Regions from separate parts of the Homo sapiens genome. Here all the other regions are linked to region 3. Evidence: promoter capture Hi-C in 16 types of primary human blood cells and fetal thymus (Javierre and others, 2016). All regions are on one chromosome and are shown on one strand. The core of a region is centred on a gene start or on the middle of the fragment in contact, and the rest is flanking DNA. Distances in the headings are between cores, read along the strand shown. Region 1 has its middle 830 kb from the start of LINC01676. Region 2 has its middle 860 kb from the start of LINC01676. Region 3 holds the start of NTNG1 (netrin G1).

What was found. The method cuts DNA at HindIII sites, captures the fragments that hold promoters and counts their contacts. A CHiCAGO score of 5 or more calls a contact.
Region 1: a fragment that was not itself captured here is called in contact with the fragment with the promoter of NTNG1 in region 3 in 4 of 17 cell types (total B cells, naive B cells, endothelial precursors and 1 more); the score reaches 16.0 in total B cells.
Region 2: a fragment that was not itself captured here is called in contact with the fragment with the promoter of NTNG1 in region 3 in 1 of 17 cell types (total B cells); the score reaches 9.4 in total B cells.

What each region holds. Positions count from the first base shown.
Region 1 is chr1:104,784,693-104,787,416 of GRCh38, reverse strand. No RefSeq gene overlaps it. Among named protein-coding and RNA genes, the nearest start is that of LINC01676, 830 kb to the left of the region's middle. The HindIII fragment of the contact is 798 bases long and covers 877-1,674 here.
Region 2 is chr1:104,762,000-104,764,823 of GRCh38, reverse strand. No RefSeq gene overlaps it. Among named protein-coding and RNA genes, the nearest start is that of LINC01676, 860 kb to the left of the region's middle. The HindIII fragment of the contact is 906 bases long and covers 877-1,782 here.
Region 3 is chr1:107,139,556-107,142,328 of GRCh38, reverse strand. It overlaps NTNG1 (netrin G1), which reads right to left and starts at 1,290. Exons shown (of 8, transcript NM_001113226.3): 1 at 1,189-1,290. RefSeq lists silencers at 596-875, 896-1,185 and an enhancer at 1,119-1,650. The HindIII fragment of the contact is 6,022 bases long and covers 1-2,773 here.

The DNA of each region.
Region 1 (2,724 bases), core at 26-2,525, 2.4 Mb after region 3:
TTTAAGTTTATTTTAGATAATGGAAATGATGTTAGACAAAACGCAAATTCGAATGATTTTCTTATTCAAGTTCAAAATGGGTCGTAAAGCAGCAGAGACCACTGGCAAGATCAACAATGCATTTGGCCCAAGAACTGCTGTCAAACATACAATGTAGTGATGGTTCAAGAAGTTTTTCACGCCGGGCGTGGTGGCTCACGCCTGTAATCCTAGCACTTTGGGAGGCCGAGGTAGGTGGATCACGAGGTCAGGAGATCGAGACCATCCCGGCTAACATGGTGAAACCCCGTCTCTACGAAAAATACAAAAAATTAGCCAGGTGTGGTGGCGGGCGCCTGTAGTCCCAGCTACTCGGGAGGCTGAGGCAGGAGAATGGCATGAACCAGGGAGGCGGAGCATGCAGTGAGCGTGATCGTGCCACTGCACTCCAGCCTGGGTGGCAGAGTGAGACTCTGCCTCAAAAAAAAAAAAAAAAAAAAAAAAAAAAAAAAAAAAAAAAAGTTTTTCAAAGGAGACCAGAGCCTTGAAGATGAGGAGCATGGTGGCTGGATATTGGAAGCTGACAATGACCAATTGAGAGCAATTATCAAAGCTGATTCTATTACAACTATAGGAGGAGTTGCTGAAGAACTCAGTGTTGACCATTCTATGGTCATTCAATATTTGAAGCAAATTGGATAGGTGAAAAAGTTTGATAAGTGGGTGCCTCATGAGCCGAGTGAAAATCAAAAGAATTGTCATTTTGAAGTGTCATCTTTCCTTATTCTATTCAACAACAATCAACCATTTCTCAATCACATTGTGATGTACGATGAAAAGTGGATTTTATATGGCAACTGCTGATGAAAAGCTCAGTGGTTGGACTGAGAAGAAGCTTCAAAGCACTTCCCAAAGCCAAACTTGCACCAAAAAAAAAGGTGATGTGACTATTTGGTGGTCTGCTGCCAGTCTGATTCTCTACAGCTTTCTGAATCCTGATGAAACCATTACATCTGACAAGTATGCTCAGCAAATTGATGAGATGTAATGAATACTCAATGCCTGCAGCCAGCATTGGTCATCAGAAGGGGCCAATTCTTCACAACAATGCCCGAACACACATTGCACAACGAATGCTTCAACAGTTGAAAGAATTAGCTATGAAGTTTTGCCTTATCTGTCATACTCACCTAACCTCTTGCAAACCTACTACCACTTCTTCAAGCGTCTCAACAACTTTTTTCAGGTAAAATGCTTCCACTTTCAGCAGGATGCAGAAAATGCTTTCCATGAATTTGTCAAATTCTGAAGCACAATTTTTTATGCTACAGGAATAAACATTTCTCATTGGCAAAAACGGGTTGATTGTAATGGTTTCTACTTTGATTAATAAAGATGTGTTTGAGCCTAGTTATAATGATTTAAATTTCATGGTCTAAAACCGCAATTACTTTTGCACCAACCTAATATAAGCTCCATCTGACAAACTCTGGGCCAAGATAAGAATAAAATAATATGTATTAATGATCTATTCTGTGGTATTTAAAGTCCTGAAGCTCCCCTGGTGGCCTGGCACCATTCTTTATAGAAAATGTACAGACAGATGAGTTGAACTTGATTTAACTGGTTACCAAGGGTGGTTTTGGCTGTATGACTAATAAGGTATTAAAAAGAAACAAGCACTCTCAGTAAGCTTTGCCTCAGTTCCCCTGACACCAAGATACACCTTCAAGGTTTCTGATCATGAGATGTAGCATTTTTCAAGAGAATGAGATATCTTGAAAATTTTTGCCTGAATGTCTGGGAACTCCATGATGTTTGCCTGTGTTTTCCTTCTCCTGTTTTATCATACACATTGTCATTATTAACATTTCACTTGAGTATACATTGTGTAGTCATATGAGTCCTTTCAATAATCCAAAATACACATATAATAATTGCTAAAATGCTATAGAAGTGATCCTTAGAATGTTTTTATTACATAAGTGAATCAATGAACTAATGAGTAAATAAAAGAAGTGTCAACTTAAATAAAAGAAGTGCACAAATGAGCTTGATTCAGTGATTTCATGGGGAAATTTGTTATTATTAGCATTTGGGTGATTAAAAATCTTTCTGCTTGTTTCAACAATCTCTCATCTACAAGAAAGATTATGTACAGGTTGAGTATCCATTATCTAAAATGCTTAGGACCAGAAATGTTTCAGATTCCAGGTTTTTTCAGATTTGGGAATATTTGCATATATGGCGTATCTTGTGGATGGAACCCAAATCTAAACACAAAACTCACTCGTGTTTCATATACAAGTAATACACATAGCCTAAGGGTAATTTTATACAATATTTTAAATAATTTTGTGTATGGAACAAAGTTTTGACTGTGTTTTGACTGTGACCTGCCACATAAGGTCAGGTGTGAGATTTTCCACTGGTGGTTTCGTGTCAGCACTCAACAACTGGAGCATTTCGGATTTTTTATTTCATATTAGAGATGTTCAACCTGTAAAAGTGATTTTTGTATTGATTTCCTAAGTTTTATTTATATGTTCAGGAGGATGCTGCAGTATTTTTTTTAATTTAGTACAAACCATGTAAAAATGTTTTAAGGCACATAAAAAGTAATATGAGCCATCTGTCTTTGCTGCTGTTTATGTAGGTTAGTTCTAGATGAAACCAGAACCCTGATTATTAAATGTTACATAACCTCATGCTCAAAATCTTTGCTGACCCAGTTATCGGGCTAAC
Region 2 (2,824 bases), core at 80-2,579, 2.4 Mb after region 3:
ACATACAAAAAAAAAAAAAAAAAACACAGCCAAAAAGAAAAAAGTTTTTATCTCAACCTGGGTGTTTGACCGAAAAGGAAAGGTCTTTGTTGAGGACTCCTAATTTCAGGACTCTCATGTGAATTCATGGTCTAAATTAGGTGAAATGAATTAGATTAAATACAAGAATCATTATTGAATACAACAATCAAAATATAAATTCTACAGTTCATGAGCTCTAAAATCACAAAGCACATAAAGATACAAAGAACAACAAACGTTTGGCCAGCAGAAAAGCAGCAGCAAACATAAAATATGTCAGACACAGATGCAAAGTAAATATGTCTGTCAAATTTTGTTTAAAGAAACAAAACATAGCTACTATTTTAAAAATAAAACAATGAAAAATAAAATGGCACACCATATTATGGATTAAAAAATATAAAAGTGTCTAAAAAAAGGAGATAGAAAAAAATAATCAAGGGAATTGGGAGAGTGAAAATACACCTTCATATGGGGGAGAAGATTTCAAGGGAAAAATAATATTCCAGGATAGATGAGGAATTTTCTCATATTTGGACATCCTAATGAATTCCAAACAGATTAAATAAAAGCAAATGTATATTATGGAAATGTAGGTGGCCAACAAGATATTTTCTAAAAAGACAAAACGTTGATTATCTAAGAAGGGAAGAAAGGACACTGATAGCCTAACTTTTTAGTGTGATAATGGAGGCCAAAATAAAATCATAAAAATATATTTGATAGGCTGTGACAAAATGACTCTGATATAGACTTGTATGCCAGCAAAACTGTCTTTCAGAAATGAGGTTAAATTTTTAACAGTTCAGATAAGCAAAAATTGAAAAAAGATTGCTACCACTAGATACAAAAGCTTGTAAAGAATGAATTTTAGTGCCTCTACCACCCCCCAGAAAAAAGATCCGAACGGAATTGTTGAAATGCAAAATATAAGTTAGTAAAGATATCAATAACTGTATTGGTCAATCAAAATATTAATTTATCAGATCTATCAAATTTAGTTAAAAAGCTAAGACAACTAAAACATGTGATATATTGAAATACACAGTATATCTAAGTTGGGGAAATTTGCAACTAGAAGGAGTTCAGAGAATTTCACAGATACATCATTGTTCTATTACCGAAGTCTAGATGGTGCGTATTTAATGTTAGCTCTCTTAACAAAACATTTCCTAATAAACATATAGGTTATACACATGTTGAGGTTGTGTAGCTAACAAATTTAAAATAATGTATTTTGTTAGTCTTAGCTGATCCTTTTTCCTGCTTCCTATTCTTAGAACCTTTGCTTCTTATTTTTGTTCCTAACAATCAATTGAAAAAAAAAATTAAAAAGCAGGTATAGGGGAGTCTGCTCAAGTAAAAATATTTCCATGGCTTTCTTACCAATATTTCACTTCTGTTGTAGGGTCAAAGACTTTTATTCTCATAACGCCGCGAGGAGACAATATATATTTTTTTAATTCACGCCGATGTGGAAATGACTTGTCATTTATCTTCTCCACAGAATGGGTTTGATTTAGAGAAGAAAAGCATGATTTTTCTAAATGTCTTAAAGGAAGTTAGAGACCAAAGGCAGTTAAGTAGTAGGAGGTGGGGCGGGTTAGAAGAGGGAGGAAGGGATAGAAAATGAAAACAATTTTGCCTAGGAGGCAAACTCTTTTCAAATGTTGGCCTGGAGATTACTTGATCTACAATCTTAAAAACCTGATAGCCACTGAACCTCAAAGCCGTGCATGCTAGGTTCTCAGGAATGAAGCTTGTATATTATCCTAATATAATCTTTGTCTCGGTCAAATAACAGAGAAACCCTACTTTTAATGCCTTGACTCAAAGAGAAATAATCTTTCCAATCAGTGTTTTTTCATAGCAGGTAATGTCATTGTATCACATAAGTACCAGGAGTATCAGTGATTCTCTTTGCATATTATAGACTGTTAAAGCATTCTTTGCTTGTCAAATCTAAATAGTGTCATAGTACTGTCACCACATATTATTAATTTACCTTTCAACAAGACAAAGGTACCATATTTACTAAACACAAAGCTAAACTGAGTTTTTTTTTTTTTTGCAACCCAGATAAATATATCACTGCCATTTAGCAATCATCTGTGTTCAGTTGAACTTTTTCCAGCACTACTAGAAAGTTAAAGGATGGTGAAAATAGAGAGACAGTTCACTGACTTCCCAAGCATATATCTATACCACTTTAATCTTGCACATAAAAGGTCAAGCATAAAATTATTTTCTTGGAGCAGCTGTCCTCAGAGATTTGAATTAACATAGATGGAGAGTACCACGGGGAAAAAAAAGTTAATTTTATCTTAATTGGATTAAGCCAGGTCCCATCCATACTGAGGGAATGAGGTTACAAAAGACTAGAAACTGCTAGGTTGACAGAAAGGGATTAATTCATGGGCTAGCGTCAGGATGTTGACTAATAACATATTGATCGTATCTGTAACATATGCAGAATGTCTGTCAGGAGCAGATGCACTTTGGAATTGAAGATGGCTAGGATATCTGACACGATCAAAGTCAGATTAATATTATTAAGGAGCTGCAAGTGAGCTGCCAATTACCTTAGCAATCACAGACATTTTCTACACGTGCCTGTGATTGACCGTCCTAAACAGTAGCAGTACTTGCTGCTTAGAGGGAAGTGACAGATTTGTGTAGCTGCTTCTCCCTCTGCCCCTTCTTTCCTTTAATGTGTTCCATCAGACATATGGAACGGTCACAGTTTAATCCCAGTGGAGCCTGCAGGTGGTATTGTCCTTGCATTGAAGAGTTATTAAATTCT
Region 3 (2,773 bases), core at 41-2,540:
TCTGAAGGAAAAAAAAAAAAAGTCCCCGGGTGAGGGTACTAAAATTAACAGCAGAGGGCGCAGTTTCTTTTTATATCTAAGTTTTTCCTTGTATGAATCACTTAATTGGTTATTTTAGGCCCAATAATATTCAGTATTATTTGTATTATATATAGATATCCACAGATCCATACAGGAGTGCAATTCAGTGTCCCTAGCCGAATCCATCAACCGATTAATATGATGCCAGTAAAGAATATGAGAGAATATTCCAAACAGCATCCCTACACCAAGTCTTCCTCTTTCAATTTCCCTTTCTCCCCAGCTGCACAACATGGGATAGTAATGTTTTAATCTAGCACCAATAAAGGCGATTAAAAGAAGGGACTTCAAAAGCTCTCGATGTGGCCACCAGATCCCCAAGGCCGGCAATAGGGCAAGTGTTTTTTTGTTTTTTTTGTTTGCTTTTCCCCAAACAAATATAATTGGCGAAAGAAAGAAAAAATAACGACAAGCCGCCTGAGCGATGTGTGTGGCCAGGTGTGCGTGAGAGAGGGAGAGCGCGGGGCCCCTGTCAGTCGGCGGATGGAGGCTCAGACCCCACGCCTGGGCTCCGGACACAACAAGAGGACGCATCACCGGCCCGGGGCGCACCCCCGGGAAGACTTGTGTGTGGGTGTGAGCGTGTGCCGCTGTGTGTGCGCGTAGGGCTCCGCGCGCTGCCTCCTCGGGGCGCTTTACAAAGTTCCTCGCCCACCCGGAGCCTTCCCTCCCGCCTGTGCATCGCAGCGGGTGGGGCGGGGGGCGGCGGGGGGTGGGGAAACCCGGGGGAGAGGGGCACGGGCGAGAGGCTCGGGTCGCAGTAGGAGAGGCGAGCCGCAGGCACTTACCGTGTGGCTCGTTTGCCCTTGCGCCGGGCGGGAGCCGAGCCGACGGCGCGGGGCGGCGGCCCTGCGCAGCCAGCCTGGTCCGCCTCGGGCGGCGGCCGCAGCAGCGGAGCCCGCGGGCGGCGTACGGGCGGAGGGCGGCAGCTCCCGCGGAGCCTCCTCCCCAGGCGGGAGCGGGCGGAGCGGGAGGGGTGGGCGTGAGGACCCGAGCCGCCGCCACCGCCGCAGCCCGGGGATTCCGATCGCGCCCGGCCGCCGGCGGGAGAGGACCCCGAGGACCGAGAACCCAGCGCCGGCCCGCCACTCCCCGCCGCTTAATTACCTTCGCCTCCGCCCCCGGGGGGAGCCTCCTGCAAGTCGCCCCCTCTCGGAGCCCGCACCCAGAGGGGGAATTCCTTCCCGTTGACGTCCTCTTCCGAAATGCAAAAGATCAGTGACTTTGACAGGTAGATGAGGGGGAGGGAGTAAGGGTGGGCGGAGAGGAAGAGAGGATGAGAAAGGTGCCTCTCCCTCCAAAAATATAGTGATATTAATAATGAGATCTCAGCCTTCGGAGGTCGTGCCAGCCCAGTCCCCTGCTCGCCGGCTCTCCTCCGCGCCTCCTCGCTCCGCTGCCTCTGACACTTCTCGCCTTAAACTTTTACTGAGGGATATTTTTTCTTTTTTCTATTTCTATTTCTTTTTTTTTTCCTCTTTTTTTTTTTTTCAAGCCGCAGGACGATTTTCTGGTTCCCGGGGATCAGAACCAGCGGCCAGGCGGTTCTATGCCGCTTGGCACCGCTTTCATTTTATTTCAGATGAAGACGTTGAGCTTAGTCAGAAGGGGCATAAATCAGGACAATTAGCATTGGCGCCAAGAAGATCCTCTAATACCAATTTCGCCCGGGTTTCCTTCGCGCATTCCTCCACTCAAGTCAGAAATGTCACTGCACATAGCACTGATGGCAGTGAGACGCGACGCACCCAAAGTCCGTTTGATGAAATATACATGGCCCACGACGCTTCTGGATTGCGGCTCCCGGACTCCCCGCCCCCACCAGCGGCTCCCGGCCGGGACCCTGCTCCGAGCGGGCAGCGAGCTCCTGGCAAACTTAGGGGCCAGTGCCAATTAAAGAGTGAGCGCGAGAGCCGGAAAGAGGAGCGGCAAAGAAGCAAGCCCGGGGAAGCCGCAGCCCTCGGAGGGGTGGCATGTACGTTTCACTTAAAAAGCAGATCTTCTTCTGCAACTGCCAGCAAGTGGAAGGATAGCAAACCTTATACTACCTCGAGACCTGTGCGCTCCGAGCGGTCCTAACTCCGTCCCGCTCGCTGTTGCTGTTGCTGGTGCTGCTCCGGCTGCAGCTGCTGCCGCTCCACGACCTCGGGGCGCTGAGGCAACAGGGCCCCCTCCCTCTACTCCCCATCCCCCCCGGCTCCTCCACAGAAGCGCCGTTTCCAGTAACTCCTCGTGTACCTCCCACTTCTGCCGCCGTCCATCCCACCCCTCTCTCTTCTGTCCCCTCCCCAAACCGTTCCCAAGCACACCCTTCGCCGCTGGAAGTGATCACAATGTTGTTTTTCAACAAGCACTTCCTTTGCCCGGAGGCCCCTACAGCCCTAGACTGGAAACTCCTCCTTTAGAAATTCATTCCCCTTTAAAAAGTTGAAGTTCAAGGGAGAGCTGCGCATTTCAGGCTTCCTTGCCTTTTCTAAGAGAAAGACAAATGCTCCGATGCTCCAGGCTTCATTCCCCACCAAGGCGGGCTCAGACTCACCTGGGATCACTCTTAGCTACACATTAACGTCAAACAGAAACAAATCCGAATTTAGATAAGATAGGGAGACTTCCATTAGAAAGAAAGACTATTGCAACAGGGAAAACGCTCTGATCTCAGAAATCTGCAAACCTCTCAAAACCAAACAGAAAT